Linked DNA regions of Homo sapiens: all the other regions are linked to region 1. The links are contacts of gene promoters, found by promoter capture Hi-C in blood cells and fetal thymus (Javierre and others, 2016). All regions are on one chromosome and are shown on one strand. Each heading gives the region's core, a stretch centred on a gene start or on the middle of the fragment in contact. The rest is flanking DNA. Distances are from core to core; before and after follow the strand shown.

The links. Contacts are between HindIII fragments. The CHiCAGO score rates a contact against its expected background, and 5 or more counts as called.
Region 2: a fragment that was not itself captured here is called in contact with the fragment with the promoter of OR52W1 in region 1 in 1 of 17 cell types (M2 macrophages); the score reaches 5.1 in M2 macrophages.
Region 3: a fragment that was not itself captured here is called in contact with the fragment with the promoter of OR52W1 in region 1 in 4 of 17 cell types (M1 macrophages, M2 macrophages, M0 macrophages and 1 more); the score reaches 12.0 in M1 macrophages.
Region 4: a fragment that was not itself captured here is called in contact with the fragment with the promoter of OR52W1 in region 1 in 3 of 17 cell types (M0 macrophages, M2 macrophages and M1 macrophages); the score reaches 5.7 in M0 macrophages.
Region 5: a fragment that was not itself captured here is called in contact with the fragment with the promoter of OR52W1 in region 1 in 1 of 17 cell types (monocytes); the score reaches 5.8 in monocytes.

What each region holds. Positions count from the first base shown.
Region 1 is chr11:6,196,400-6,202,710 of GRCh38, forward strand. It overlaps OR52W1 (olfactory receptor family 52 subfamily W member 1), which reads left to right and starts at 2,825. Exons shown (of 1, transcript NM_001005178.1): 1 at 2,825-3,787. The coding sequence starts at 2,825. The coding sequence ends at 3,787. RefSeq lists enhancers at 2,639-3,139, 3,140-3,640 and a silencer at 5,206-5,406. The HindIII fragment of the contact is 17,873 bases long and covers 1,810-6,311 here.
Region 2 is chr11:5,994,510-6,000,820 of GRCh38, forward strand. OR56A4 (olfactory receptor family 56 subfamily A member 4) reads right to left here. Exons shown (of 3, transcript NM_001005179.4): 3 at 4,936-6,311. It also overlaps a transcript of OR56A3 not described here and the pseudogene KRT18P58. Among named protein-coding and RNA genes, the nearest start is that of OR56A4, 9.3 kb to the right of the region's middle. The HindIII fragment of the contact is 518 bases long and covers 4,803-5,320 here.
Region 3 is chr11:6,018,923-6,025,233 of GRCh38, forward strand. OR56A1 (olfactory receptor family 56 subfamily A member 1) reads right to left here. Exons shown (of 2, transcript NM_001388488.1): 2 at 414-6,311. LOC107984303 (a long non-coding RNA gene) reads left to right here and starts at 3,078. Exons shown (of 4, transcript XR_001748102.2): 1 at 3,078-3,166. It also overlaps a transcript of OR56A3 not described here. The HindIII fragment of the contact is 1,112 bases long and covers 3,306-4,417 here.
Region 4 is chr11:6,038,154-6,044,464 of GRCh38, forward strand. It overlaps LOC107984303 (a long non-coding RNA gene), which reads left to right. Exons shown (of 4, transcript XR_001748102.2): 4 at 153-237. Among named protein-coding and RNA genes, the nearest start is that of OR56A1, 11 kb to the left of the region's middle. The HindIII fragment of the contact is 313 bases long and covers 3,770-4,082 here.
Region 5 is chr11:6,055,161-6,061,471 of GRCh38, forward strand. It overlaps the pseudogene OR52L2P. Among named protein-coding and RNA genes, the nearest start is that of OR56A1, 28 kb to the left of the region's middle. The HindIII fragment of the contact is 1,243 bases long and covers 3,352-4,594 here.

The sequences.
Region 1 (6,311 bases), core at 1,575-4,074:
AGCCAGACAGAGTTAGTATCCTAACTCTGCTATTTACTAGCTATATGACCTTCCCCAAGTTAACGTCTGTCTCTTAGTTTCTTTTGTAAAATGGAAGAAAGAATTGTGCCCACCTCAAATGACTGTTGTGAGGTCAAGGCTTAGAGCAGTGCACGTACACAGGAAACCCCACAAGACTTTTAACCACTACTATGATTCAGACATTTCCCTGACTCCCCCAGCAAGAGTGAAAGTCTTCTTTCTCTGTGCTGCCATCGTATCTGGTATTGACTTGAGTTAAGGCAATTACTTTAACAACCCTTCGACAACTGTTTAGATCACTGTGTCCATTAGACTGTGAACTCCTTGAGAGCAGCAGGGTCTTGTTATTGCCACTGTATTCTCACCACATGACACAAGGCCAGGCAGAAAAGAGATTCAACTAGTTCTGCTATAATGCTAGTTTTAAAATACAAATTATTCAAAGACAATTGACATATGTATTAGGGGACTGAGAATAATGTGAATTTCGTGTTTGCTTGCATGTAACTCCACTTCCAAGAAAGTAGGTGAACCCAGAAAACTGAACCCAGCTGAACTGAGCTGAGTAAGAAAGCTCAACATGCACACATGCACACACCTCAAACATCGATCAGCTACTTCAGTTCACCACTTGCGTTATGAGCCACACCCATTCACATCTGGTATTACAACTTTCTGCCCAATTTCATTTTATTGGATTTATTTTTTAGAGACAGGGTCTTACTCTATCACCCAGGCTGGAGTGCATGGCATGATTATAGCTCACTGTAGCCTTGAACTCCTGGGATCAAGTGATCCTCCTGCCTCGGCCTCTCGAGTAGGTAGAAGTACCAGTGCACACCACTGTGGCTGGCTAATTTTTTTAATTTTTTTGTAGAGATGGGCTCTCACTGTGTTGCACGGACTGGTCTCCAACTCCTGGGCTCAAGTGATCTTCCTGTCTTGGCCTCCCAAAGTGCTGGGATTACAGGTGTGAGACACTGTGCCCAGCCCATCTTTTTTTCAAATGTGTCACTGATGAAGTTTTTGAGTGTTGTGCCCCTAACTTCATTTTTCCAATAGGCCCTGTGGTCTTTATTGTATGACTTTACATAGTGTGGTGAGTTTAAGTCTCCTTATAATAGAAAGAACTGTATTCAGTAGACTTGTGGTTGATGGTGAATAATTCTTTTTCTTCATGGATATCTAAAGCTCCTGAAACTGTAGGAGCCCCTATTAGTCAGCAAAAGCTGTTTGGACTAGCAGTCTGTCCCACACTTAAAAGCAATATATATTTATTCATAGCTAACTACATGCCAGACATTGTGGTAAGCAGTAGAGACACTGTAGCTAATAAAAAGCAATATCTGCAACTCTTTTTGTCTCGTGGGGAATTGAGAGACAAGAAATTACAACAGAGTGGGCTAGATGCTATTAAAGAATAAACCAAGGAATTTTCTCCCGGACTTCAGTGAGCCAGCAAAGACCTCCCTGAGAAAGTGTTCCTTGCCCAGATCTTTCCACCTGATAGTCTCTTTCCTGGCTTGCCCCCATCTCTGCCTCCTTACTCTACTTCCTGAGTCACCAGCCCATCAGCACTGAGCAAAGAGATACAAAACAGAGTTAATGTGGCACAGGTGGGAGGGAGAAAGGCCCTGAGGGAAGCAGGTAGAACAGCCACATAAAGAGCCCCACAGGCACTGATTAAAGCGAAGAGAAGCTGCCAACACACAGTGCTCGAGATCTTTCCCAGTCAAGCCTTCTGCTGGTGATTTCTTCCTCATTCATTTATCCATTCAACATGTATTAAGCTTCTTAGGTGGGCTGGATCCCACCTAAGTCAATCTACTTGTCCTGCCTCCTCCAATGTCAGAGATGCTTCTTCCTCAGATGGCTGCTACTCTGAGTTGAGTGCCATTTTCTCCCTCTATGTCACCTCCACTCGCTCTGGCATGCCAGGAATGAGACTCTAGTGGGACCCACTTTTGTACCGTGAAGAAGGAAAGGAAACGGAGAAGAAAAGTCCCGTTTCGTACTGCCATCTCTCTCTCTGTTGCTTCCCAGCCCCAACTTCAACTCTCCAGCTGGTGTTCAGCATCAAGTTCAGAACGTAAGCACCCTGCACCCCAAAAACCCAGCAAGTTTTCCCTTGCCACACCAAGCTCCCAGATTCACTCCAGATTCCATCTGCCTCCCACTACGGTTTCTCCCTTTCTTTATACTCTGCCTCCTCTCTTCCTGGATGGTTGGTGCTGAGAATGGGCAATTGCTCAGAGCTGGGCAAACCTTAATATCACTGTACCCACCAGGCCTATACAGCTGAAGAAGCTGAGGTCCAGAGATCTTGCCCAAGGATACACAGGCAGGGACAGGACAGCCGGAAGCCTGATTCCCCACCCTGCCCCCAGCACTGGCTTTCTCCTCATATAGAGACTGAGACTGACTCTATTTGGACCCTGAGGAAGAAAAGTATTCATCTCCACTCCACCCTCTGCTGACATCCAATTAGAAGGCTCTCTCAGGCTATCTATACCAACCACTGCAGCAGGCAGCCTCTTCCTCACTACCCCTTCCTCCCACTACAATACATATAGACTTTTAGGAGCAAAGGATTCTCCTATCTTAGCTAGAATTGCGACCTTAATTATCCATCCAAACCCCCCTAACCAAAAGTTATAAACCTGTGATCCTCCCAGCCCTGCACTACTCCTACACGTATGCCATGGATGGGTTTGTGCCACTGTGAGACCCCCAAAATCTCTCCCCTTATCTTCCCTGTCAGGAGTCATGCCCCCATGAGCCCTCAAGTTGTGCCCACCACAGAATGGCAGAAACTCTACAACTCAATTCCACCTTCCTACACCCAAACTTCTTCATACTGACTGGCTTTCCAGGGCTAGGAAGTGCCCAGACTTGGCTGACACTGGTCTTTGGGCCCATTTATCTGCTGGCCCTGCTGGGCAATGGAGCACTGCCGGCAGTGGTGTGGATAGACTCCACACTGCACCAGCCCATGTTTCTACTGTTGGCCATCCTGGCAGCCACAGACCTGGGCTTAGCCACATCTATAGCCCCAGGGTTGCTGGCTGTGCTGTGGCTTGGGCCCCGATCTGTGCCATATGCTGTGTGCCTGGTCCAGATGTTCTTTGTACATGCACTGACTGCCATGGAATCAGGTGTGCTTTTGGCCATGGCCTGTGATCGTGCTGCGGCAATAGGGCGTCCACTGCACTACCCTGTCCTGGTCACCAAAGCCTGTGTGGGTTATGCAGCCTTGGCCCTGGCACTGAAAGCTGTGGCTATTGTTGTACCTTTCCCACTGCTGGTGGCAAAGTTTGAGCACTTCCAAGCCAAGACCATAGGCCATACCTATTGTGCACACATGGCAGTGGTAGAACTGGTGGTGGGTAACACACAGGCCACCAACTTATATGGTCTGGCACTTTCACTGGCCATCTCAGGTATGGATATTCTGGGTATCACTGGCTCCTATGGACTCATTGCCCATGCTGTGCTGCAGCTACCTACCCGGGAGGCCCATGCCAAGGCCTTTGGTACATGTAGTTCTCACATCTGTGTCATTCTGGCCTTCTACATACCTGGTCTCTTCTCCTACCTCACACACCGCTTTGGTCATCACACTGTCCCAAAGCCTGTGCACATCCTTCTCTCCAACATCTACTTGCTGCTGCCACCTGCCCTCAACCCCCTCATCTATGGGGCCCGCACCAAGCAGATCAGAGACCGACTCCTGGAAACCTTCACATTCAGAAAAAGCCCGTTGTAATGTCCAGTGGTAACAATGGAGCCTAAGAGTGGAGGTGAGGGGACAATCGGAGGGGAGTCTGGGGGTGTGGATCATGTTATTTTCATCCCACTGCATATGACTGTTATCATCATTTAACAGGTACTTGCTGTGGAGTCCCTATGTGCAACACTGGCATCTGTAGACTTTGACTTAAACATGTATTCTGCTTGGGAGGAGGCAGGAGGTAGAGGTCAGGGGGCTACACTACCATGCAGGAAAAATTAGTGAAGGACCATAATAAACAAGATCTAACAACTCCCTTTCCTGCTCCCCACCTCCATTATTTCAACCTAAGTCTGCCCACGTTTCCACACAAAAGCTCCTCTATAGATCCCAAACTTGAGGGAAGTGCTTGGCACTGCCGCAGAGGGTGGCGCTGTCCCTGGAGTCAAGTGCTTGGGCACCCGTCTGAAATCACAGCCCTCTCTACTCCTGGAGCCAGATTCTGTTTTCAGACTGCCCTCAGGAAACGAGTTCTACAGGCTCATCTCCTGCCTTCCGATAAACTAAATAATGTGCCCTGTGGTACCAATTTGGCCACTTCAAATTCAAAGAATCCTCTTTTGGTCTCATGTGTAATTACTATTCTTCCTTCCCCCAACTCCCACCAAAGCCCCCAAAATTAACAGCTGTAACTTCTTCCCCTGTGACTGCAGCTGCAGAGGTCAGGGGTCCACTGAAAGAAATGTTGATATCCCAGAAAATCACTGCAGCCACATCATCTGATTGCCTGAGGCTGAATTACTATGGTTTCTTGTCAATCTGCCCTTCTGTGCACCCTCAACAAGAAGGTATAATCCCCAGATAAAATCCCCATAGGCACCCCCATTTGTCTTGGCCAACATCATTAGAAGCACATGATGTTAGTGCAATATGATGAAATGAAACATTTCACACTTCTGTAACTGTCAGGGCAGCAAGAACAGGAAGTGCGGTGGTGTTGCCCAACAGGGGATTCATTTTCAGCTAAGACACCACACTGGAAGGGACATTACATAACAAAGGTCTTTAATACTATCACGGAGCTTACAATAAGTATAATCTGACAGAAGGCAGGGAGTCACCGTTATGAGATCAGAAAAAGCTGCAGACTGCAAAGGCAAACCCAAGCTCTCCAGGAAAACGATCATAACCACAGGTATTAGAGTTAGCCATGAAAACCTGAAGCCAGGAGCAACCCAGTCCACTCAGCACAGATAGCTGGACCAAGATGGACCACGGAACACCACACAGAAGAGGAGACTGCAGATCAGAAAAAGCAGATGATGCCATCTCCGGTGCCACACTGGGTCTTAGCAGGTCATCAATAACAAGGACTAAAGAGCCCAGAAGCTCTGTATCATTTTCACAGGCATCATCACACTGCATGCAAGTAGATACAGAGGAAATCTACAGTCAACCTAAGTGTGTGCTCATTCATTCTCAAGACTAATTTTTTTCATGAAGTTCTGGGTTTAACTGGCCTCCAAGCAATGATTTTGCAGATAACTGTGACACAATTCTAATCCTAATGAGTCACAAGTCTTGAAGATGTTCGTATCATTCTCTTACTCTAAATTCCCCTTTATTGCAGTGAGCTGTGATCACACCACTGCACTCCAGCCTGGTGACAGTGAGACCTTGTCTCAAAAATATATAAGTTCCCCCTTAATAAATCTATCCTAAGAAAATAATTGAGATGTGAACAAGCATATATGCAGTAAAATATTTATTGATTATAAATAAATATATGTATGATAATCCTGCGTCTCACATACATACAGGTATACCATTTTTTGCCTTTCCCCTCTGATACATGAAAGGGAAATCATCTGCAGCCAACGTTCATAAACAATGAATTCTGTCACCCTCCCACCACAGGAAGACTCTCTTCTAAGGCACCTTCAACCCCTGGTTGTGCACAACTTTTCAAGGTAGCTGGTTCCAGAGCTGTACGTTGTCCATTGTAGCAACTTTCTTCCTTCAAGCTAAAAATCCACTCCCTTGGACATTTGTATCTTGTTCCAAATTGAGATTGCATACATACCTACCATATGATGTGTTTCAAGAGCTTTACCACACTCTCATTCCTCATGACAACCTGAGAATTAATTATAAGCCCACAATCCCTCATCCATAATTCCAAAATAAAACTCTGAAGAAACAATATTTTTTTATAACTTTGGCCCAAAAGCTGACATCTCAACCATCATGATCCTATTTATAATCTTTATTTATCTTATTTAGTGTAAATGTTCATACATCTAACTTCAGAAATGTTGATGTTTGATTATAGGGCACTGTCCTGAATCCCACTGGGGTATTCCTTAATATATGATATATATATATCATATTCCTTTTCTATAATCTGAAAAAAACTGAATTCCAAAATATCTGTCCCTAAAAGTTTCAAATAAGGTGTGAGGGGTCTGTGTGATTATCCTTGAAGTCTGAGAGACATGAAGAGACTTGTTAGGGCTCTTTATCACTCTAAAGTCTTTGCTGTCAATACTATTCTATACTG
Region 2 (6,311 bases), core at 3,812-6,311, 200 kb before region 1:
CTTTTCATGGTTCTTCATGAAGAGCAGCTCCTCCTTGAGAGCCTCGATCTCTGTCTCCAGCTGCAGCCGAGTGACATTGGTGTCATCAATGACCTTGTGGAGCCCATGGATTTCGCTCTTCACAGACTGGCACATGGCCAGTTCTGTCTCATACTTGATTCTAAAGTCATCAGCAGCAAGACGGGCATTGTCGATTTGCAGAATGATGCGGGCATTGTCCACAGTATTTGCGAAGATCTGAGCCCTCTGGTCCTCAAAGGTCTTGAAGTAATGTCCCCAGTCTACCTGGGGTCCCTTCCTCTCCAGGTGCTCCCGGATTTTGCTCTCCAGCTTCTAGTTCTCAGTCTCCAGGCTCCTCACTCTGTCCGGGTAGGAGGCCAGGCAGTCATTCAGGCTTTGCATGGTCTCCTTCTCATTCTGGATGCCTCCCATTCCTGCCAGACCCCCGGCCATCCCTGCAGCCAGGCGCCCGGACCCCAAGCCACCTGGAAGCTGGTGGACCAGAACATGGAGATCCGGGAACCTGAGGCCCCGGCGCCTGCATAGACGCTGGCCGCACTGCTGACTGGCCGGGTGCCATAGCTGGGCGGCTGGACGCAGCCCAGGGACCGGTAGTTGGTGGAGAAGGTGGAGTGAGTGGTGAAACTCCTGCTGTGCAGGTAGGAGAGTGAGAGAACAGGACTCAGACTTAGCTGACGACCACTTTAACATGTAACCAATATTTTAAAGTGTGGAAGAGCTATTTTGTATTATTCATTCTTTTTGCACTAAATCTTCAAAATCAGATGTGCACTTTACACTTATAGCGTGTTGCAATTTGGACTGGCCACATCTCAAGGGTTCATATGGCTCTTAACTACTGTGTTGAACAGCAGAGGTCTAGAGTTATGGGAAACTAAACACACCTCCTTTTATTTTCCTTAGGATATAAATTTAATCTTGGTGATGGTCACATGGCACCATGACTCTTGAGTTGGACAGGATACAGGAACTTGTTTAGTTTGGTTCGATTTCTGGGTCAGCTCAAAATTACAGTTTTCATTGTCTTTTTCAATACTACCCATCAAGGTTCCTTTAAAGATTTCTTTTAGTATGTTTTTAATTGACAGATTAAATTTCATGTGTTTATTGTGTACAACATGTTTTAAAGTATATATACAATGTGGAATAGTTAAATCTAGCTAATTAGCATATACACTACCTCACATAACTATCATTTTTGTGGTGAGAACACCACCAAACGTTCACTATCTTTTCATTTTTCAAGAATACAATATGTCATCATTAACTATAGTCACCACGCTGTGCAATAGATCTCTTGAACAGCCTCCTCTAATCTAACTGTAATTATTTATCTTTTGACCAACATCTCTCAATCCCTCCCTCCCACCTACCAGACTCTGGTAACCACCATTCTACTCTCAAAGACTTTATAGAAAACTTTTTCATATTCTTCATTTGAGTGAGATCATGTGGTATTTGTCTTTTTGTCTTAATATTTCACTTAATATAGTGTCCTCCAGGCTCATCCATACTATAGCACATGACAGGATTTTGTTTCCCTATTAAATCAGTATGTCAAAGGGATGTCTATACTCCCATGTTTATTGCGGCACTATTTGCAATAGCAACATATGGAGTCAACCTAATGTTATCAACAGATGAATGGGGAAAGAAAATTTGGTACATGTAATATATACACATATATGTATGTGTGTATATATATGTGTGTGTATATATTACATGTACCAAATATTTTGTGGCTGAATAGTATAGCAACAAAAATCCTTCAGAGATTTCTTAGTAGACTGGTCTTTCAGATTTCATAATGGGAAGACCTCATTAAGAACAGAGATAATCAACACATCCAAAGTTCCCAGCTTAGCTCCTCACAGAATCTCTACCAGGCATTAGGACTTTCCAGTAACCTGTAGCCCAGCCTCTTTGTCTTAGGGTAGATATTACTCTTCCTCTACTCCTACCTTAAACCAGTGAAGTTTTTTTTTTTTTTTAGAACCAATGTGGCTATTCAGTAAAGAACTCCAAAATTTCTAGATTCCTCCAAATGTGGTAATAAGAGCACCGTTCTTTCACATAAGATGTATTTGGAAACTACAACTAGATGTTGTTAACAAAGGATGACGAAAGGTAGAATTGGAATTAGAAACAACTACAGCTTCAGATATACATCCAAATAGTCAGACTATACAAACTTATTTGTGGCCAGATTCCAAAGAAATAAGTCTATTTCTCTAGAGACATTGGCTTTGTTTCCAGTTGGTTATTATATTCTTTTTGCTGGGGCAATGAACAAAAGATAAAAATTAACCCCATGCCCAGTCTGAAATTTTCTGAGGAGTATAGTCGCTTGAGCAATGGAAAAGGTTTTCTGTCCCAGACAGAGAAGCAGGAAAGAGCACTGAGAGCAAGGCAGGATGAGATGGGAAGCCCAGGAGGGAGAAATCAAGGTAGCTGAGATTAATGGCCCTATCTTTTCTGATGCTTCCATGGCAATCTTCTCTAGGAGGGGTGAATTATAGTTGATAACATAAACTCACTGAGTCTCCTGGTCTACAGCTGTCATAGACAAGAATGAACGAATTCAAGAACCTTCACTCTGGAAATCTCAGTTCTGTTTAAATGGGTAGTGTACAGCTCACATTAAAAAACTTTGCCCCCATGGGAAAGCAGGGCTACAGCAGATTTTGGGATATTGGCAATATTGGCAGAATCTGAATCTTCAACCCCAGACTTGCTGCATTTCTACCAGAAGAATGAATGCTTCCTGCTTATATGGAACACCTGGGTCCCTACATGACTCTCATGCTCATTATTTTCCTAGTTCCAAAGCAGACCTAGCAGCTCAAGGATGCTGTACTGTAATTGCTATTTGTGACTGTTTAATGCACCATCAGACCTACCCCCTCTGAGGTTCCAGAAGCTATTTTCCTGTCCTAAGCTCCACTCTGCCACTTCCCTCCCCACAGCCCACCAGGGCTAAGGCTATTTTAGGCATCTGAACCTAGAGCATAGGCCTATTCTTCAGGGAGGCATGGGTAGAAAACACAGAAGATAAAATCCAATATTGGGATAGTGATTAACAGGAAGAAAATTGAGGAAACATCACGGAGACTTGAGGCATTACAAATAAAAATTAAAATCTTATATACTTGAAAAACAAATATTTCTAGACTTAGGAGAGAGAGAGCTTCATTTCAGACTTTAGGTATACTCTTAGGAAAATTATGTTTAAATGAGAATTACACAGTATCCATAAACCGGGGTCATTTTATTATAGCCAGTATACAAAAATGGGCTATAAAGCCTAACATATTACAGACATATCATTTCCCTATTACCTACATCACAATGGCTTCAAAATTGGAATGGGCAAGTGGAATATTTGTTATTAATGATAAGAGCATGAAAATCCAACTCACTCACTGGACAGGTATAAGATTTGTCCAAATGTGTGTGACAGTGAAGGAAAAATGCCTTGGAAAGCCTCTCGGTACCAGCAATAGGAGTGAGGAAACTGGAGAGGATGCTGAGACACAATCCTCTGTCTCACCTCACAAGTCTGGGCTCCAAGAATGAGATGGTGGGATGACAATTGTGTTGCAGACAATGGTGCATAACTGGGTGAGATTTTACCTATGTCACTTTGAACTTCTCTCTCTGTCTTCCAAAGGAAACCTTGGGTTGGGTATCAGCTCACCTCCTCTGGCCAAGCTATGACTGACCATAAATAATGCCTGAGGATAGAGATGGTTTCATTACACACTACCTGTTACCCTTCCAACCCTACCACCTCTTCCTAGAGAAAAGAAAAGATCCCAGGGAGACTCCTGCTAGAGTCTGATTTATGTATTGTCTGTGTGCCTGAATCAGAGGCCCTCACTTAGAAAGAGTCTAAATTAGGAAGGATAATAAAGCAAAAAAAGGGGAAATTATGATAGAAGGGAGAGCGGCAGACAAAAGTGATAACACCAAGGGAAGGGACTATCACTCTTTTCTATTGAAAATATTTCAGAAGCAGCGAGTAATAACCGACCAGTTTTTCTCAGGTGAAGTGCCAAGTGACACCTGATTTTGAGAGAAGTTGCAGAAGTTATTCTACCCCAAGAAGAAAAGTTGGACTAAAATAAGAACCCAATAGGACACTCTGGAGAAAATATGTAAGACAGCATTTATGGACTCTGTTTCATTTGCTATTTTATAGGTAAACTGAGAGTGAGGATTCTTAACACTGCTTTGAGCAGGGATTGCAAAGCAGTCAAGCCTCTGCACACTGTGTGGTCATGAATTACGAAGATAATTTACCAAGACAGCTGCTTGGACATGGTGAAAACAGTTTCCTATTTTATGATTATTGTGTCATGCTCTCTCAAACATACAAGATGGGATTGTTGGTACAATTTGGAGGGGCAAGTGGCATTGGAAGCCTGGTAGCCTTAAAGAATGTGAGCACTGGAGTGGTATTATAGCCACATATCTTCAATGGCTGTCCCTACGTGTTTCCGAAGGGATGCTTGTGGAGAGCCTCGTGGTGCACCCAGACTGAAATGGATATAAATAGGCTATGTTCAACTAAAGGTCTTATGGGGCACCCAATAGTTTGGAGTTCCTACATGATAACCCTCACATAAGCAAGAGAACTTCTCAAGAAAATAAACTAGTGACAAAAATAACTAGAGGGAAAGAGGAGGACTCAAATTCCATGGATACCTTAATGCCCCAAGGTAAATAAGGTGTGCAATAACGGTCAGCCTATTATTCAGAGGGCAGCAGGGGAAGCAGCAAGCTTGGGGAAATAATAATAATGATAAATCATTCAATGTGTATATAATTTAATGTGTATATACTTACTGTACAAAAACTTTTATTAATTCACTCTTTGAAAAAACAATAAAAAATAAATTAACACCATTTTCAAGGTAATTAAGCCAGAATTTATGAGTTTAACCAAAGTTCACAAAAGCGGAGTACACAAATTTAGCCAAATTATTTTATCTGAGAATAAAATTCCAGTTCTCCAGACTGTCTCAATCCTAATGGTCTTCACTATATAAAGGTTCATTTTGTGCTGGCTAAAAATATGGCTCTCTGTTAGGTACTATAAGGACATATAATAGTATAAGATTTTATTGTTGTTTCCAAGTAGTTATTAAAGAAAATGAGAGATGAGAGATCACTTATAAAATGTTCTACAGATTTTGTTCAACACATTTTTATTTTAAATTTATCTGTATGTATAAGAGACAGTAAAAGTAGCCATGCAGAATTTTAAAGATGAATAAAATACTCTCAACCTAAAAGAAGCTTATGACAGTGTCAGAGAAAGAAATACAGCCACACAAGATGCAAGAATAATGATTCCAGTCGGGAGGATCAGGGAAGGAAGACCTACTGTGGGAGATGGCATTTGAATTCAACCTGGTAGGAAGGAAACAACAGGTGCTGGAGAGGATGTGGAGAAATAGGAACACTTTTACACTGTTGGTGGCACTGTAAACTAGTTCAACCATTGTGGAAGTCAGTGTGGAGATTCCTCAGGGATCTAGAACTAGAAATACCATTTGACCCAGCCATCCCATTACTGGGTACATACCCAAAGGATTATAAATCATGCTGCTATAAAGACACATGCACATGTATGTTTATTGCGGCACCATTCACAATAGCAAAGACTTGGAACCAAGCCAAATGTCCAACAATGGTAGACTGGATTAAGAAAATGTGGCACATCTACACCATGGAATACTATGCAGCCATAAAAAATGATGAGTTCATGTCCTTGGTAGGGACATGGATGAAGCTGGAAACCATCATTCTCAGCAAACTATCGCAAGGACAAAAAACCAAACACCGCATTTTCTCACTCATAGGTGGGAGTTGAACAATGAGAACACATGGACACAGGAAGGGGAACATCACACACCGGGGACTGTTGTGGGTTAGGGGGAGTGGGGAGGGATAGCATTAGGAGATATACCTAATGTTAAATGACGAGTTAATGGGTGCAGCACGCCAACATGGCACATGTATACATATGTAACAAACCTGCACATTGTGCACATGTACTCTAAAACTTAAAACATAATAAAAAAATAAAAAATAAAAAAACCTGGTAGGAAAGATGGGGTTTGGCAAATGGTGATAATGGTAAAAGAAGGCTGATGTGAGAAGCATCAAATGATTGAAGAGAGAGAGCAAAATGGGAATAAGTAATTTTCAAGAAATAATGAGCAGCTCATTTTGGCTACAGTGGCAGAGAAAACAAAGTTTAAGATAAGTCGAAAGTATGTTAG
Region 3 (6,311 bases), core at 2,612-5,111, 180 kb before region 1:
GAGGAAATGGACAAATTCCTGGACATATACAACCTAATGAGATTGAACAAGGAAGAAATAGAAAACCTGAAAATACCACTAGTGAGTAATGAGATTGAATCAGTAATAAAAAGCCTGCCAACAAAAAAAAGCACAGGGACACAAAGTTTTACTGCCTTATACTACCAAATTTGTAAAGAAGAAATAACACCAATTCTTCTAAAACTACTCCAAAAAATTAAAGAGGAGGGAATTATTCCTAACTCATTCCTCAAGGCTACTACTACCTTGACACCAAAAACAACAACACGACAGAAAAAAAAAACTACAAGCCAATATTCTTGATGAACATAGATATAAAAATCCTCTGCAAAATACTAGCAAATCAAATCCACCAACCCATCAAAAAGATAATACATCATAACCAAGTGGGATTTATCCCAGGAATGCAAAAATGGTTCAACGCATGCAAATCAATAAATGTGATACATCATGTATTAGTCCGTTTTCTCATGCTGCTGATAAAGACTTATCTGAAACTGGGCAATTTACAAAAGAAATAGGTTTAATTGGACTTACAGTTCCACATGGCTGGGGAAGCCTCACAATCATGGCAGAAGACAAGAAGGAGCAACTTACATCTTGCATGGGTGGTGGGAGGAAAAGAGAGGAGCTTGTGCAGGGAAACTCTAGTTTTTTTAAACCATCAGATCTTATGAGATTCATTCACTATCATGAGAATTATGGGTGCAGGAAAGACCCACCCCCATAATTAAATTGCCTCCCAATTGTCTTTCCAATTTAAAAAGACAATATGTCAGGCAACAGCATAACTAAGATACTAAACCTGACTTCTAAACTTAAAATTCAAGTTCTCATTAAGCCAAAAGTGAATGTCAGAAGGCTTTTTCTCAAAAGCATTTAGGCACAGTATTCAATTCGTCAGTCACTCTGTGAATTCAAGTAAAAATGAGACCTTGATCCCTCTCTTGGCTCTATCCACAGGCAAACCAGCATTTACTTTTCCAGGGATAAGCATAGGTTTAAGGAAAGTCTCTCAACCTCTTTCTTAAATAGGACACAGTCTTAATTCTATTATAAGCATCCTGGTAAATGTAAGAGCTCTAGTGACTTTTTCAGAAAATGTATCAAGGTTTATTTTTTCCAAGAGTATTGACTCAGGTATCTCTCCTCCCCCACCACATACTAACAACGGCATCTCTTGACAGACCACAAGAATTCTGCATAAACTCAAAAGCTAAGCAGAAAATACATTGTTTCCAATCAAATACCAGGATCTTAACATAATCATAGCAGAATGTCAAGGCAGATTTCAAGTATATGTTTGAACAGTCCTAAACTAGGAACTGAATTTCTTTGGCTATTCAGGCTCTTTTTTGGTTTCATATGAATTTTAAAATAGTTTTTTCTAGTTCTGTAAAGAATGTCATTGGTAGTTTGACTGGAATAGCATTGAATCTGTAAATTGCTTTTGGGCAGTGTAGTGATTTTAATGGTACTGATTCTTCCTATCCATGAGCACGGGATGTCTGTCCATTAGTTTGTATCTCCTCTGATTTCTTTGAGCAGTGTTTGGTAATTCTCACTGTAGAGATCTTTCACCTCCCTGAGTAGCTGTATTCCTTGGTATTTTATTTTTTGTGTGGCAGCTGTGAATGGGATTGCCTTTCTAATTTGAATCTCAGTTTGGCTGTTGTTGTTATGTAGGAATGCTAGTGATTTTTGTACATTAATTTTGTATCCTGCAACTTTACTAACGTTTATCAGCTGGAGGAGGTTTTGGGCCTAGACTGTGGGGTTTTCTATATATAGAATCATGTCATCTGCAAACAGAGACAGTTTGACTTCATGTCTTCTTATTTGGATGGCCTTTATTTCTTTCTCTTGCCTGATTGCTCTGGCTAGGACTTCTAATACTATGTTGAACAGAAGTGGTGAGAGAAGGCATCTTTGCCTTGTGCCAGTTTTATAGGGGAATGCTTCCATCTTTTGCCCATTTTGGAGGTCAAAAGTTAAGAGAAAATTTTAGAATTTCTTTGAGTAAAGAAGACTCACAGAAATCCAGCCTGAGAAAAAGTTAGATGATGTGTATAGCAGTCCTTCTCAAGTCTGACAGCCTTAAAATAAACATCATTAAGTAGAAAAAGAGTGGCATGGAGAAAGGGAGAAGACAATATAGAAAAGAAAAGTAATGGAAATTATGCCTAAGAAAATCCTTTGAGTGTGATCACTAGCACATTGAACTGACCTGATACAGATAGATCAAAAACCTATTAGGCCTTCGAGGGGGTTTATTGCCAAAGAAACATGAACTTGACTTTTGAAGAAAGTTTTTGCTTTAGAATTTAAAAAATGTATTGATCCTACACAAATTACAATTAGAAAGGAGAAACAAGTACTAGTGTTTTACAGAACTAAAGGATGATAATAGTCAACAATATATTGTATATTTTCAAATAGCTAGAAGAAAGAATATTGAATATACCCAACACAAAGTAATGATAAATGTTTGAGATGATGGATATGCTAATTACCCTGATCTGCTCACTACACGTTGTATGTAACTTCATAAATATGTATAATTATTATGTATCAATTTTAAAATGAATAATTAAATAAAAAATTATTTAAAGTACTGATACTAATATTTTATAAGTAGAAAGTAGGTTCAAATGCAGTGTCACTCCAAAAGAAGTCACATTGTTCGATGCCTGCTTCATTTAGGATAATGGGAACATTAATAAAGGCACATTTAGGATAATGGGAACATTAATAAAGGCACAAACCCCCAAAGGCAGATGGCATTAAAAAAACAATAAAAAGCAATGATCAGGACATTGAAAACAATGATCAGGAGAGTTCCTCCTAGAGAACGCAAACAATGTCTAGTCAAGAAACTTGTCCCCCTCTCAGTAAGTAAAAATATTGCAATATCTGCTCCTAAAGCATTCTCGCATTACTATTAAGTTACTGCTAACTGAATTCTACACTTCATTTCCAGTTGGAAATCATCTGCTCCGCCATTAATAGAGAGACAGAATATCACTGGTGAAAGAGAAATCACAATGGGATCTGATGGAGAAGGCCACACACATCTGTAGGTCTTGGATTTTTTGCTGCATAGAGTAATCAGATGAGAGCTTGGGTGGTCTCCCTTGATAAGGAGGTAAGCCTATTGTCTATGTAGGAAAAAGAGAAATGAAAATTTATGATCAAGGCTCTTTTGCAAGCAGCTGGATCTATGTGAGGAGTCTGGCCGATGAAATGATAGAGAAAGTGATGTGTCTCCTAGTTTGGGGCCCTAAAGCTTACAAAATCCTGCATATTCTTTCTCTTTCTGGCTTGCCACCCAGATTCAGAAGCACCAGTGAAGGTCTCTAAGAGCCCAGAACATGGAGGATCCACATAATAAAAAAAGCATGGGTCCCTAAATGTTGATGTGGAGCAAAGCCCTCATGCATTGGAATGAGGTGTGGGTGAGAAGTAAATTTTATTGTGTTAGGCCACTGTGCTATCATTGTTACAGTAGCTAACTTTAATTGCATTGACTAATTCAATGCGTGTGGGTTTTTAGTGTACTCTGCCTTTGATATCTATAATCTGGAGTATGAAAAACTTAGGAAACTACAAAGCTATCCAGTGAAAGATTAAAAATATACCTCAATCCCTAGACTCTGAAGAAGCAAAAATGGGTTTATGTAGCAAAATGCCTTACTTCTCAATTTTAACTCTGGTCCCTATTGATTAAATGACTATGTATAATTTATCATTTTGCTCAGTTGCCTCATCTGCAAAAATGGGAATTATAATTCATGGGCTATTTTGACCATAATCTCTCTAAAACTTAGTTTTCCTGTATGTTCAGAGTGCTAATCACACGTAAAGAACTCAATAACTAATTTTTGGTTGAATAGGTGCAGAAATGTTGTTATTATATACAGTACTCAGCCAAATGCTGATAGTGTAATATGTTATGAAACACTAAGGATATTCACTATTCTTATGAATACCTGACTCATGTCAGTGATTTGGTATTGACTTTTAAATGTTGCTGAAGAAAAGAAAATCATGGTATAAATTGGTATGTCTCTTTTATTTGTTAAATTAATCACTCAAGTCCCTATGTGCCCTATGAGCAGGAAGTACAGGAGTTTTCTAAACGGACTTGTCACGTTCTCTTTCAAACACCTGAGACTGAGAACTGGCATTCAATACAGTACCGTTATTCCCACAAATAGCCACAAAGGGGCAATGTTGACTTGCCAACTATGAAGAGTTTGCTTAACTTCAGACGTTGCTGTTTAAGTTCTACAGTTGCAGTCTTGATGCTATAAACTTTCTCTGATGTCTCAGAACTCTCACTGCCTAGAATATACACCAAAGCATAATAAAGTATCAGGATGGCTAGGCACTAAAAAGCTTTCTGTGATAAATGGAAAGTGTAGTATTGTTCCCTCAACAATACTTAGGTGTTTGTTTTGAGCTTTGGCTACCAACATAGGGTCCCTTCTTTTTCCACCTTAATTCCAGAGGACTTGCTATTCTTTCTTTCCACTGGCCTTGATTTAAGTCAGCTATGGTATTGAATAGCAATGTGCAATGATATCAGATCTTCCTGCTCAAGAGGCTGTGTTCCTCACACAAATATGACTAACCTGCAAACCAGGGAGTGAGGGGAGTGACCTTTGGAAAGCTACTCCTGTCTCTCTTCTCATGTTCTGAATGCACCCTCTTCCAATGCAGTTGGAACATATTCAGGTTGTATCAGCAAAGCAAATCTTCATAGACTTCCTCAGTTTTGAAAAACTGACAAAACATTGGTACCCCATCCATTTAAAATGCCTTTAATTTATACTACTTCATTATATCCACTCAAGACAGTGCTTGAAAACCTTTACAGAGAGGACATGTTTTAACATTTTGCTATGGGAACTTCACAGCAGAGTTGGGTCTGCCCTTCATGGTCTGATTCTTTGGTTATCTTGCTCCTTTATCATCTGTATGAGGATTTACTTCAAAGCCTATCTAGGACCCTTGAGACCAGTTATTTTACCACTTGCAGTGAGCTTGACAATTTTGTGAGAAATCTGTGGTCCTCTAAACCTCTATACTTAGAACCAGAGCAGAGAGCCAACTTTTCAAGTATGTGGTTTATCCATTTGTTACGTTTAGGACTCTACTACTGGGGAACTAGAGATTAAAGATAGACATGATTTTTCAACTCTTCTTTTAGCCAATTCAATATCATAAGTAAGGAAATGTTTACTGAGCCCCTCAATATGTGAGAGCTGTGCTAGTTACTGTGAGGGGTGATCACTGTTGTCCCACTGCTGTCTTGGTCCCTCCATCCTTTACAAATCCCTACAACAAAGTTGGTAGTTTCTATCCCTATGTACACCCAGTTTGAGTCAAGCATCTCATAATTGTGTTGGCCATTTGCATTGATCTACAGAAGTCTGGTTCGGGAATTAAGATCTGAGTTTTGGCCAAATAACATAGACTCCTCTTTGAGTTCATTCTGGGCTTGCTTCCGGGTGAAATCATGGCAGATGCAGGGAAAGCACTCCTGGAAAGACGAATGGAGTTGACCAAATGCTTGAAAATATCACCTGATTACAGATGTATTATATTCCTATGAATTATATCCTATTAGATTCCTTTTTAAAAACTCACTTTTATGATCACGTATAGAAGGCTCTTATGAAAATTAAATATTATTATTCATAGACATTGGTATATTGCAAGTGCTCAAAACACATGAACTTGGATTTTCATTATAAGTATTATTTTAGAAAATCAGTGGTGAAGTTGGCCTTTATATCATCTAAGGGACAATAGGAAAACAGTGAGAGATAAAACTCTCTTAGCAACTGTGAAATGGAGAGAAGTTCTATTAGAGAATTCTGTGCTTAAAATATGACAAATACTGAGTTGAACCTGTGGCTCTGGCTTGAGACAATGAGAGCCAAGCCTGAAGGTACTAAGAGCCCCTTCCTGTAAGCCAATGGGTATAATTTTTCTTTCCTACTGTTGTTGAGTGACTGGAAGAAACTCTCCTCCTAGAGCCCACACCAGCATTGGGTTACAGTTACTTTATCTAATCCCCACAATGTGGGGCAGTTGATCTTACTCCTCTTACCAGCTTCATGTCAATTCCTTCATAGCTATGAATGCTGCCTCTAAACATGATGTCATGTTTCTCCACCCACCTGCACTAGGGGACTTGATTCTGACTCTAATTCCCTGGTAGGAACAGTGCACTGCAGGGTGATGTTATAGGTGCTCCTCAGTAGTCACAAGCTTTCAGACCC
Region 4 (6,311 bases), core at 2,676-5,175, 160 kb before region 1:
TGGTTTAAACTTCAGCAAATAATATGTTCAGAAACAATTTTAGATCTGTTTTAATGCTTAGCCTATAGTATATCCCACTGACTTTAGACAAATTATTTTGTTAGGTAATAATTTATTTAATGTCTTTGTTGTCTCATCCGATCCACCTATAGACATCAAAGCCTGGAAGATACCTGAACTAGAAAATGGGAAGAAAATTATTCTCCTGGTGGCTTTTGTAAATTCGTTTGTATTCGGTGTAATTGTCACCTGCTGCTTCGGTGGAACTCCCTGTCCCTTTCTGTTGGGCAGAAGGAATGGGCCCATCCGTAATAGATACGGAGAGGAAAACAAAGTGATGACAACTCAGTGGGCAAGCAGGGCAAGAGCTGTTTCTGCAGAGAGCTTAGTAGCACAGCCCTATTCACTTTTGCTGGGATGTATGCGTCTGGGACATAATGGGGCTGTGCAGAGATAGCACTGGAACAGACTGATAACCAAAACTGAAATTTCAAAAGGGAGGCTACAATCGAGCCAATAAAAAGTGAAAGGGCTGCTTTATAATTCCCAGTTCTCCCATTCTTATTTTTTTCTGTTTTCCACAGGTTCCAAGCTGAAGAGTTTTAAATGTGTCCATGAATTCATTCAGTTCTTGCATTTGTTTACTTATAAATACTGATGCATTGTTTACTTATAAATACTGATGCATTTCTCTCATCAATCCAATACTCATCCTTTGAACTACCACTCTGAACAATACAGCACAATCAATAATAATTTTTAATTTTTTCTCTGATTACAAAATAATATGTCAATATCCTAAAATGCAAATTATATAATATTGTATATCATTTAATATCCAACAAAATCCCACCAATCTTCACTTAAATACTTTAAACATTATTTTAAAATAATGGAGACTGACGATAAGACTCCAGTCTCCTCCACAGCTGGCTGTGTGAATTACTCATTTCCTATTGCCATTGGCATTCCCCCGTCTTGATAAATCTGCTCTGTCTAGGCAGCGGGCAATGTGAACCCACTGGGTGGTTACAAATTTGGGGGCTTGTCTGGGATAGTCCTTGTGACTACCTGCCCATGGTTCCATAGTCTCCCCTCTGGCAACAGATCTAGAGGCCAGCCCAAGCAGAGGCCAGCCCAAGCAGCCGCCTAGTTCTCCTGGACTAGAGGCTGACTCTGGTACCATCTCTGCCAGCAGGGCACTGCTGACCCAATGTGTATGGATTTAAATGCAGTGGAAAAATAGTCCTGGGGAGATTTCCCATAACTGTAGCCCTATCACAGGTTGTCTGACTGTAGCCCCATGGTGGGGTGTCTGTAGCCCCATTGCAGTGTGTCTGGGTTGGTGAGTATCCTAGGTGCTGCCAGTGCCTCCTTCCTTCTCCTGGTTCTGTAGCGCCATGGTGGCGTATCTGTCTGTAGCCCCATGGTGGGGTGTCTGTTTGTAGCTCCGCTACTGGGTGTCTGTCTCGGTTTGGCTCTTTCAGGGGTCTCGTTTTGTCTGTAGCCCCATTGCTGGATGTCTGTCTCAATTCAGAACCTGGGGGGTTTCGGTTGGCTCTCCCTAACTAGTAAAGTCTTGGTTTGGGAGACTTCTCCTTATTCAGGAAGGTTTTGGGGAGATTTCTTAAACAGAGAATAGCAGGATAGTTTGGAAGGGATACGCTTGGAGTTCTTGGTTAGGGATCTGATTTGGAAGGCCTTCTGTCCGTCTTGTCTTTGTATATGTGTATATATGTGGAGGGGACCTCAGAAGGACTTGCTGATGGAAGTTCAGCAGGCCTAACTCAGAAAACCCTCCTTATTGGTCTGGTCACATTTGTTGAGCCCTAAAGGAAGCTCAACAGGCCTGTCTCAGGGTGACTATTTGCTCTGTGCCTTGCCCAGAGACCACCCATTGTGAGTTACCATTCAGAGGTCATCCCTTCTCACTTGGAGTGGATCAAAGACAACAGGGACCAAAAGGAGAAAGTTTGAGCTTTGCCAGGCTGATATTGGGTGCTGAATGAGGTGGCTAGTATCTGTTTTGTTATGTGTATTTTGCTGGAATTGAAAATGTTAATTCATTTCCCCACGTAGCCCATTGGGCAACATCTTGCAAAATTGAGAATATTTTCTCCATGGCTTCATCAAACAGAATTTTCTTTTGTAAAGTGGCTTGACCCTCACAGCTATGGCACAGATAGCAGGGTCATCAAAAGCTGCTCCATTCTTCTGGAAGCTACAGAGAAAGGGAACCTGGAAACCTGGTATGCTGGCAAAAAGGGTAAGAAATTCTTACCAGCCAAGTTTCTCGTCTCATTCTCTCTCTCTCTCTCTCCCTCTGTGTGTGTGTGTGTGTGTCTCTCTCTCTATCTCTCTCTGACTCTCTCTCTCTATTCTCTCTCTCTGACTCTGTGTGTGTGTGTGTGTGTATAAATGGTAAACGTCACTATTTGTCTTCTCTGCAAGAGTTTGATTGATAGAAAAAAGGATTTGTGAGACTAGTCTTAGGCTGTAGCAAATCTGATGCACGTTGTGCTAAGAATTTTTCTTTCTGTAATGGAGACAGGGGTATCACAGGATAGAATGTGGGTTTGAGATCCGTATAACCCTGCTTTCAAGCCAGGCCAGCAGGCTAATCAGCTACAAACTTTGTTGCGTGTCCCTGAAACCAATACCAAATGAAATTTCGTCTTGTTTTGTGTCCTTAAGAGCTTAACCCTGGGACTGTGTGGGGATATTTTCTCTTGGTCTCCACCATCTAGAGGACAGAAACTTGGGGGTTCACATTATAGTTAGCCCTAAAAATTATCTTGAGCAGTTAAAAGCCTTTTCATGCTTGAAATTGGCTGCTCTAGGCTTCTGGAAAGAGCAATAGAAACTGCTCAATGCTGTGTAGCTCAGTAGCTGACGCTTTATCTTTTGACAATTGTGGCAAGGGTTCAATTCTTGGCTTCCGGAAGCATTCCTTCCTGGTTTGTTATTTGTGTAACTTTGCCATTTATTGAGGGTTTTTTCGCCCATGGATAGCCTCTGATTTCCTGTCTTGAATTTTCCTTTCCCTGAACTACCCTTGGGGAGATTCTAAATCTTGTAAAAATAGAAACTACTTACCGTCTCTTTGAGATATCTTATGCATCCATAGTTAAGTTAACCTTAGTTAAAACTTATTAATTAATTTCATGTGGGAAATTACCTATGGCAGAATTCAAAAGCCAGAAATATTGGCTGTTCTAGCTAGAGTCTGGTAATAAAAGATTTAAAAGAATTTCTTTTTAGAAAAAAATAGCTCTATGGCTAAAATCAGCTTAATTAAAAACAGATATCCAAGTTAAATGTATTTAAGAGAGCTTTATCTTTTTCCTCTTCTGGAATCATGTTCTTCTGAAAGTTTTTTTCTTTTCAGTAGACTGAATTGTTTTTCTCCATTTTGTCTTCTTCCCACTCTTGATGCCCACATGAGAGAACCTAAGATAAATTCTAACAGCCTGGGACTCCTGGGGAAAAGCAGAGGAGGCACCACAGAAAAACCTAGGAAAAACCTCTGTTTTCGTCACAGAAGCCCAAGAATGGAAAGAGAATAGATCCCTCTCAAAATCTAAGACACTGTTCTGTTTTGCATTGTATTACCTGACAGTTTTGACTTTTGGGGGTATCAAAAATTACTTTGTGTTATGGGAGAGCTTTTAGCCTTGGTGTGTAATAACTAGGTAGGAAATATACTTTAAGGGATGGCTAATGGCAGTTATGGAGAGATACTTGGCTCTTTACATGCCTGGATCAGAGAAGCTTGCCCTTGGCCACCTGGAAGATATGGAAACATACCCACCTCCTACTGAGAGGTGAGACTCTCAGGGGAATGGGCTGATTACACAATGGACTGATTGGCTTTGGGTTGCCTTGCAATGAAATGCATGGTGAAAACACTGCACAGTTTGAATTGTCATTATCCAGTTTTAGAGACAAGGTTACTCTAGCTTCATAAAATAAGTTGGTAAAAATTTTCCATCTTTTTCTATTATCTTGAAGAATGCATGCATGATAGAGATGATCTATTTCTTAAAATTTTAGAACTCACCTATAAACCCATAGTGTACTGAAGCTTTTGTTGGGAAAAGGTCTTTAATTAATATTTCAAATTTTTAATGGTTATTTATATATTTGAGTTTTATTATCTGAAGCTACTGGTGATTTTTAAATTTTTAGTTTTTCAAATTCATTGGCATAAAAGTTATTCAGAACATTATGCAGAATTTTGTTGTTTTCTTATATGTTTGACTCTGTTAGTTGTCTTTTCAACACCCATTTCCGTCTCACTATCATCCCCTCTCCATTTCTTCCTTGATAGAAGATATCTAATTTATTTCAGATATTTAGCCCTTCATGAAGTTCCCTCACATGCATATGCTAATCAGTACATTGCTGAACACTCAAGGGGGAATTTCTATAAATCTTTAGGATTCTCTTTCTATGGAGTTTTCTCTTCCTCAATACTCTGCCTTGTGAACTCTAGCTTCTTTGGACTCCCTTCCCCTTCTCCTCGACACAGAAAGATTGCCAGGCTGCAGCTGAGTTTGCCCTCTCTTTGACGTAGCATGGAATCTCTCCCTAACGAATTGAAACAATCACTTTCCAGTAAACAAGACTCACCTTTTTTGTTTCCTATCTCTTGGGGATCACTGTCCTCCATTGCCTGATGTCCAGTGCCTTCAGAAACATTATTTCACATATTTTGTTCAGTCTTTTAGTTATTTCAAGTGACAGGGTAATCTAGCTCCTGTTACTTCATATTGACCAGCTAAAGTCCCTCTTGAGTATATAAAATCATGCTATACCAGCATATCAAAGCACAATTTAACTCTTATCTCCTCACTGGGTTCATGGTTGGATTTGCGGCTGCATGAGCCTCATCCTTCTCCACAGTCAAGAGAGATCAGGCCAGGCACGGTGGCTCATGCCTGTAATCCCAGCACTTCAGAAGGCCGAGGTGGGTGGACCACCTGAGGTTGGGAGTTCTAGACCAGCCTGGTCAACATGGTGAGACCCCGTCTCTACTAAAAATACAAAAATTAGCCGGGCATGGTGGCGTATGCCTGTAATCTTAGCTACTCAGGATGCTGAGTCAGGAGAATCTCTTGAACCTGGGAGGCAGAGGTTGTGGTGGGCTGAGATCCAGCCATTGCATTCCAGCCTGGGCAACAAGAGCGAAACTCTGTCTAAAAAAATAAAATAAAATAGAGTTCTATTTCACAGCTGAAGCTTTCATATCTTAGAAGGACTATGCATCACAGTGAAAGAAAATATACGTCTGTAGGAACCTGAGGTCAGAATGATTTGGGGACTCCAAAATGTATCTAAAACATTTGATAAAAATAAATTTTAGCATAGGAAAAGGGCAGCAGCATCCAGAAATGGGAAATCAAGTGAAATGCAACTAATGCAGGACCTTCAGGATTAAGAATGGCATTTGAATGTTTTTAAGTAAAACGTCTACCCAAACTTTCTTTCTTGTGTGTGCAATCAGATGTGTGACCAGAATTAACGAGACTGTCTTAGGGAAGACCATGTAACTATAAACCTTTTCTCAGGAAGCTAAGCAAGCACAACCTCCAAGTCAAAATTCCATAGAGTGAAAGCAAGGGCCAGCAAGGGCAACTGTCTTCTCACTGGGCTCATGGTTGGATTTCTGGCTGCATAAGCCTCATCCATCTCCACAGTTAGCAGAGATCTCTTCCCAGCTAAAGCTTTAGTTCATCTAATATTTGCAATTTTACATTCAAAAGATATTTCACAGAACAAAGAAGATCATATTTGATGGAAACAAGAGATTAAATTATAGTGGCCCTTACTTTCACCCTATGGAATTTTGCAAATAAGAATTATCTCTGACTTCGTTTGGTTCTGGAGAGCCCAATCTCTGTCTTAGCCCATAAAAAAGGGAAGCTTATATCAATATTTCTTGAATAACCAAAGAGTGAAGCTGACAAAACCCACAGAAGTGTCAGCATACAAACTTGAAAATGTAATCACCTTTCTCTTCCTCTCATCTACTCCACACATCCAATTGATAACCAAGCTCTGCTCATCTTTTAAATAAATTGCTTTAAAATACTTTATAACCACTTTTCCATTCCTTTCACAATTAAAGGAATCAAGCAACTCCCCTGCTTTCCACCATTCACCAAGATATTGTTATACTCTAATGCCAGATAGCATATATCTATTTATTCCATATTTGCAATTTGCAATTCAAAAGATATTTGATAGGACAAAAAAAATTATATTTGATGAAAACAAGGATTTAGTACCCTCTACATTTCTTTCATTAT
Region 5 (6,311 bases), core at 2,723-5,222, 140 kb before region 1:
TGGATATGGAAGTTACTGGGTTCTAATTGTTATGATTTTGACCCCTATTTAATTCCTTGTGGACATTCGCTACTGCTAAGAGTGTGAATGGGCTAGCGAGAAATCTGCACTTTTAATCTCTGACAGCACTACTGAGCTTCTTCCTCTCAAAAACGTACCCTGTCTCCTCCAGGTGGAGAAGGATCTAATTCTAGAATGGGAGATCTGTTCCCCTAGTCCTACATAGAAAATGACACTAAAAATTATTAAAAGGAAAAACTGAGCACTCACTGCAGAGGTATCAATTTTGTGTATTCATTGACTATAATATTTCTTATCACAAATAATTATTGAGGGTGTATATTGTGTTGAAAAATGACAGGCACTTGGTAATGAGAAGTACATGGAAGACAAAAGAATCCTGCCTCCCTGAAGCCTACAATCTAGCATGAAAGATATACACAGCACAAGTAATATCACAAATTTTGCTAGAATTGTAATCATTCCAATTCAAGACATTGGATTGCAAACACTGTTTACTTCCTCTCTCTCTCCCAGTGTACCCATTAAATTGCTAAAGAAATATAAAAATGAAAATAATGCAATAACAATATAGAATATGAGCAAATATACTTGGATTGCATCATATACTTTGAGAAATTTTTGGAATTCATAAATCAGACTAAATTGGATTCATAGAAAAACTGGGACCCAAAAACCTGCAAACCAATGTGTAGTTATGTATATGTGGAGGGTGGGAACTATAGGGGAAGAGGAATTGGAAAAGTTAAAGCTTGATGCAGGGCTGGGAAATGTTCTCATTAAGAGATTCAGGGTGCAAACCTCATCATTACACAATATATCCCTGTACCAAACCTGCATATGTAACCCCTGAATCTATTTTTAAAATCTAAAAATTTTAAGAGATCCCAAGGGATACTCCAAGTTTAAAATCAATAAAATGATAACAGTAATTGAAAGCAATTAATTAGTGCATTGATTAATTTATTGTTATTCTACTTCCAGCAATTGGATCAGTTTAGTATGAAACCTGGCTCCCTATAAAATGCAAGAGGCAACTTTGTATCTTCAAACCCTATAATTGCAGTGGGGCAGATGTAATCAGAGGCAATTACAAGGTAACTTTGGTTCTCCAAGTTACAAATAGAGAAAAGGTATGGAGAGGCAGCTCCACAGGTCAGCAAACTATACCAGATTATCTCTGATTGCAGATATAAAAGCTTCTCTACTTCAGCAAAAGATGAGGGAATGCAGCTCATCTTTCATTTTCCTCTTGACAGCCTGAGGAGAATTCTGTCTGTTAGCAAATCCGTGTACAATGACCTACAAAGTCCTACAATTGGGGCACAAGAGCAGTGACCTTTACAGGCTCTGAGAAAACTCACAGCGAGGACCCAACCATTTAATTCTCATCTACAAACAAATAAGAGTAAAAATCTACAAATAATTGAGAAAAAACTAGTATCGTGAAGAAAGGACCAGGCTGAACAAGCGGAGAAACTCATCCCTTAAAGAAAAGAGTAAATGCAAGAAAAAAGTCATTTATAATATGCATAATAAATATTTTAGAAATGTCCTAATTTATGCATTTTGATGTGGCAGAAAAGTAAAGGAATCTAAGTCATCCTAAAAGACACGAAAAGGTTCATCTAAAGGGTTAACACTAGCATTTAGCTGAATGGCTGTACCATGTAAATGTGCTGCCAGCACAAACTTAGAGGTTTGGAAGACACTCTAAACCTAAAACCAAGCTGAGGGTGGGACTTCCCATTGCCATTCCAGAGAATGTTGCATAGTCTATCACTGGGCAATGGCAGGAAAGATGACACATCCAGAGCTGTCATCCATTTCTACTGTCCTCAAGTCTCTCTGACACAGGAGTAGGAAAATGTTGGAATCAGGAGCAAAAGAAAGAATGGAAAAACTATTCACAAATTCAGGTATCCAGATACATCCCAATAAGCTGTGAAGCCAGGTGCCTCTGGATATTCTTTGCTGTGATATGTGACACTAGAAGGACTGCTCGCTGTGAAAATTACCCCATCCATATAATCTGCACCAGCCATGAGTTCCTGGCTATGTCCTGGCAGGTGCCTCTGAAGGAAACAGTGAGAATATATTCAGGTCAATCCTTTAGTGTAAACACCCTGAGCACTCACTGGTGGATCTTCTGGGTCTTCACCCCATAGACAAGAGGATTGAGTGCAGGTGGCACAAGGCGATACAGTATGGCCAGAAGAACATGGACGTGATGGGGTACATGATGACCAAAGCGGTGAGTGAGGAAGGAGAACATTCCCGGGATATAGAAGACCAGGATGACACAAACATGAGAGCCACATGTGCTAAACGCCTTAAGTCGGGCCTCATTTCCTGGTACCTTCAGCACTGCCTGGAGAATGTGGGCATAGGAAACACCAATGGCCAGGACATCCAGCCCAACCACAAGCAAGGCCACAGTCAGCCCATAAGCTCGATTGACTGTGGTTTCTGAGCAGGCAAGTTTCACAACAGCCATATGTTCACAATAGGCATGGCCTATGATGGTGGCTTGGCAGAAGATAAGTTTTCGCAACAGAATGAGGAAGGGGATGAGGAGTAGTAATCCCCGCACCAGCACCACCATTCCGATGTGCCCTATGACCCCTGGATGCAGGATCGTGGAATGGTGCAAGGGGTGACAAATGGCTACATAGCGATCCAGAGCCATGGCCACAAGTACCCCTGACTCCATGGAGGAGAATGCATGGGTGAAGAACATCTGGATCAGGCAGACAGTGTAACCAATCTCTTGGGCACGAACCAGGAGCACTGCAAGGGCTTTGGGTGCAGTGGAGGAGGCCACAACCAGGTCGATGGCAGCTAGCATGGACAGGAAGAGGTACATAGGTTGGTGCAAGGATGGGTCCATCCAGATGATGAAGAGAATGGTAACATTGCCCACTAGAGCAAGGAGGTAAAGGATGCCCAGGGGCAGTGCGATCCAGTGCTGGCTTTCCTCTAAACCCGGAATTCCTACCAGGAAAAAAGAAGGCTGGGGTAGCCTCCAGCTGGAATTGCTAAGCGCCATTATCAATGACTTGAGGAGGAAAGAGAAAAAAGAATCCAAATTCATGATTTCTGCATTTCTGGTACATTATCACATAGTCCAGATCACATTGTCTACCATCTTCATGAGAAGAATAAAGTGACTAAAACTGCAACCAAAGGGAATAAAGTTAGATACAAGAAAGAAAATCTTTGGTGGAGATAAATTTTTTTACAGGTGAGACATCCACATGTCTGAATTAGAATAGGTCTAGTTTTTTTAGAGATAAGAGTAAACATACACTGTTTTGGGAGAGATGCATAAGCTTTAACCATTCAGTTGCTTATGTTTTGAAGCTGCCAACTTCAAAGGGTTCTCTTTATTAGCCTCTTGGCGTTACTGAACACAGTAAATTAAACTGTTGTTTTTGAAATTAGCCTCCCTCAGTTTCCGTGAAGTGGCACTCTAGAGTTGTTTCTCCTATAGCCTCAGTCCCACCATTTTCTCCATCTCATTATGTTGTTGATTCCAGGGATCCATCCTCTCCTCTTTTCCCTATTCAGTACATTATCTCTGAATTGACCTCATCCACTTTCATAGTTTTATCTATCTACTTTTATTTCTTTCAAATCTGTGTTTCTAAGTCAAATATCTTTCTGAAACACAAATCATTCTTTCCATTTGCTTCCTGAATAGCTATACTATAGCCTCAACATATTCAAAACTAAATTAATTCATCTATCCTTCTTAAATCTGTCCTACCTACCTTTGGCAATATTTTTATGAATTACATTACTATCCATCTACCAAACCCAATCTAGAAACTCGGAAACTATCTTTACTTATTCTTATCTCTCATCCCTTTTCCCCATTCGCCAATTCCTGTTAACTGCATTTTTAACACATAGCTGTTATATCCACTCCTGTTTTCAACCCCCGATGTCAAACATCCAACTTCTCTCACCTGTACTGTTTCATTACATCTCTCTGCCTTTGCTGTAAACATCTTCCCAATTCACTCTCAACCTTAAAGTCAGGTTTTTCCTAAAATGCAGATGTCGTTATGTCGTGCCTATGGCTAAAATCCTTCAGTGAATCTATTGCATGGAATAAAATCATACTCTTAAGACTGCATTAAAGGTTTTCAAGGGTTATCTATTGTGTATTACTTTGGTCTTACAGTTAACATATTTCTACATGTATGTTTTACTAAACCATTCCAACATTCTTGGAGTTATATGACTAAACTCTCCTATTTTACATATGCCTTTTGTGTAGTCTTTCTTCCACTTCCTTTATCTGAATTGGTCTTCCTCACTCTTGAAAATTTAGAGTCTACTCTCTTCTGCTGCTCAAAAGGACTCATTGGCTGTGTTAGGTCAAGAGTGATTATGTCACGAGCACTGTATGTTATGATCCTTCTTTGTTCATCCATAACTTTCTTGCTTATCTCCATCATAGAAATCCTGTCAGCATCTTAATGGCTTGTTTTAAAGAACTGTATCTCATTACATGTCATGATTATAAGCTAGCATGGATGCTTCACAATGCAGTGTGATAAATACAAGCTTTGCGGGCAAAGTTTGTTAAAATTCTGTCCATTTCATATTCTAGGAATAAAATCTTGCTAGGCTTCTAAAACTCTCTAAGTCTTAATTTCCTTATTTCATATTAGAATAAATAATATTAATCTTAAATACTAAAAATTTTAACTAATGTATGTAAAGTCTTGATATATAGGTTACCTTATAAAGTATAGTCTATAAATTATAGTTCTTTTTTAATGTTACTAATAAAAGATGGCTATGAGCTCTTAGTCATCTTTTATTAAGTTGGTACAAAAGTAATTGTGATTTTTGCCGTTGAAAGTAATGGCAAATATTAATAGCAATATTATTAATGTTTAAAAAGATAACTATAATTACCTTTCCTTTCTTCTTTGTCTTCATGACTCTGCTTCTCTGATTCAAACTTTTGATATGTTTACCTGTCATCATGATGTTATAGCAATTCAGTGTCTCTGACACCCCACGTTAACATGAACTATTGAATAAACAGCTGTCTGTTTAACCTTCTCCATGGGATTCACCCCTCAAGTATTAAAATAAGAAACTTGCAACTGGTTACATTTGTGTCTGTATGTTTATCTTAAAAGACAGATGTAGTCTGAAACAACTATATTTTTCTTTGTTGGGGTGGTGGTTCGTGTACATGTACATGTGAAGATTTTTAAAAGTCAAGAATGACTCAGTTCTTGTGGATTATGCATCTATAGATCACTCAGTGTGTCTTTTTTACAAATCAATAATGTTTGGGAACTATCATATTGCCCCCAAACTCTCAATATAACAACTATAAGTTCTGAAATTCTAGGTGGGCATATGTCTCCCAGCCTTTGTCTTTCTTCAAGAGTCAACTTAAAATAATGATGACATTTTTATTGAGACTTCCAGGGGAATCTTATACTCTTGCAAAAAAAAAAAAAAAAATCACCTTTCAGTGCTTAATATTCCACATACTGAGGAAGTTAATTCTCTTTCTTAGCTACTCCCCTTCTGTTACAACCATCAGCTCATTTCTCATTTTATAGCTGAGAAGTTGAAGAACAGGTATGTGTTTGTGGAAGGCACCCGTGGCTTTAATAGAAACAGTGTGCATAAAGCAGTGAGACTGAAACCGTACTACAGAAGGTGAAGCAGAGGGGCAGAGACACGAACCTGAATATAATCTGCTTCTTTTTTATGCTGCATGGCTTGTGAGACTAGAGCAAAAGCCTACATCTGCTTATTAAGCACTAATTATTAAAGTAAATAGGAGATCCCTCTGTGATTCTTAGAAGAAAAGCAGAAGGGACTTTATTCCCAAGAACCTAAAAGTGAAGCTCTATTTAGTTCTCCAACCAGAAAGCAGGGGACAATTAGCGAAGAGCTGATGCTGTTGAACTACTACTTATTCATCTACATTCAATCTAAGCAACCTATCTTCTGTGAAGTTGTGCTTGAATTCTGTAAGACAGCATAATGTGTCTCCTTTTCTTTCCCTTTGTGATGTCTTTACCACTTTGTCATTGCATTGATGACCTTGCACTTTAAAAAGCAGGGACTATGCCTTGCTTATTGCAGCAGCCCCAGGGCAAGCTCCAGAAGCACCTAGAATCCAGTCGGTAATCAGTAATGTTGGTTGAATAAATATCCATATGATTAGATTAAATAATAAATAAATAAGTGTATGAGTGTCTTAAAAGGCTGAAGATTATGAAAATTTGATAAGGCAGAGACTGAAT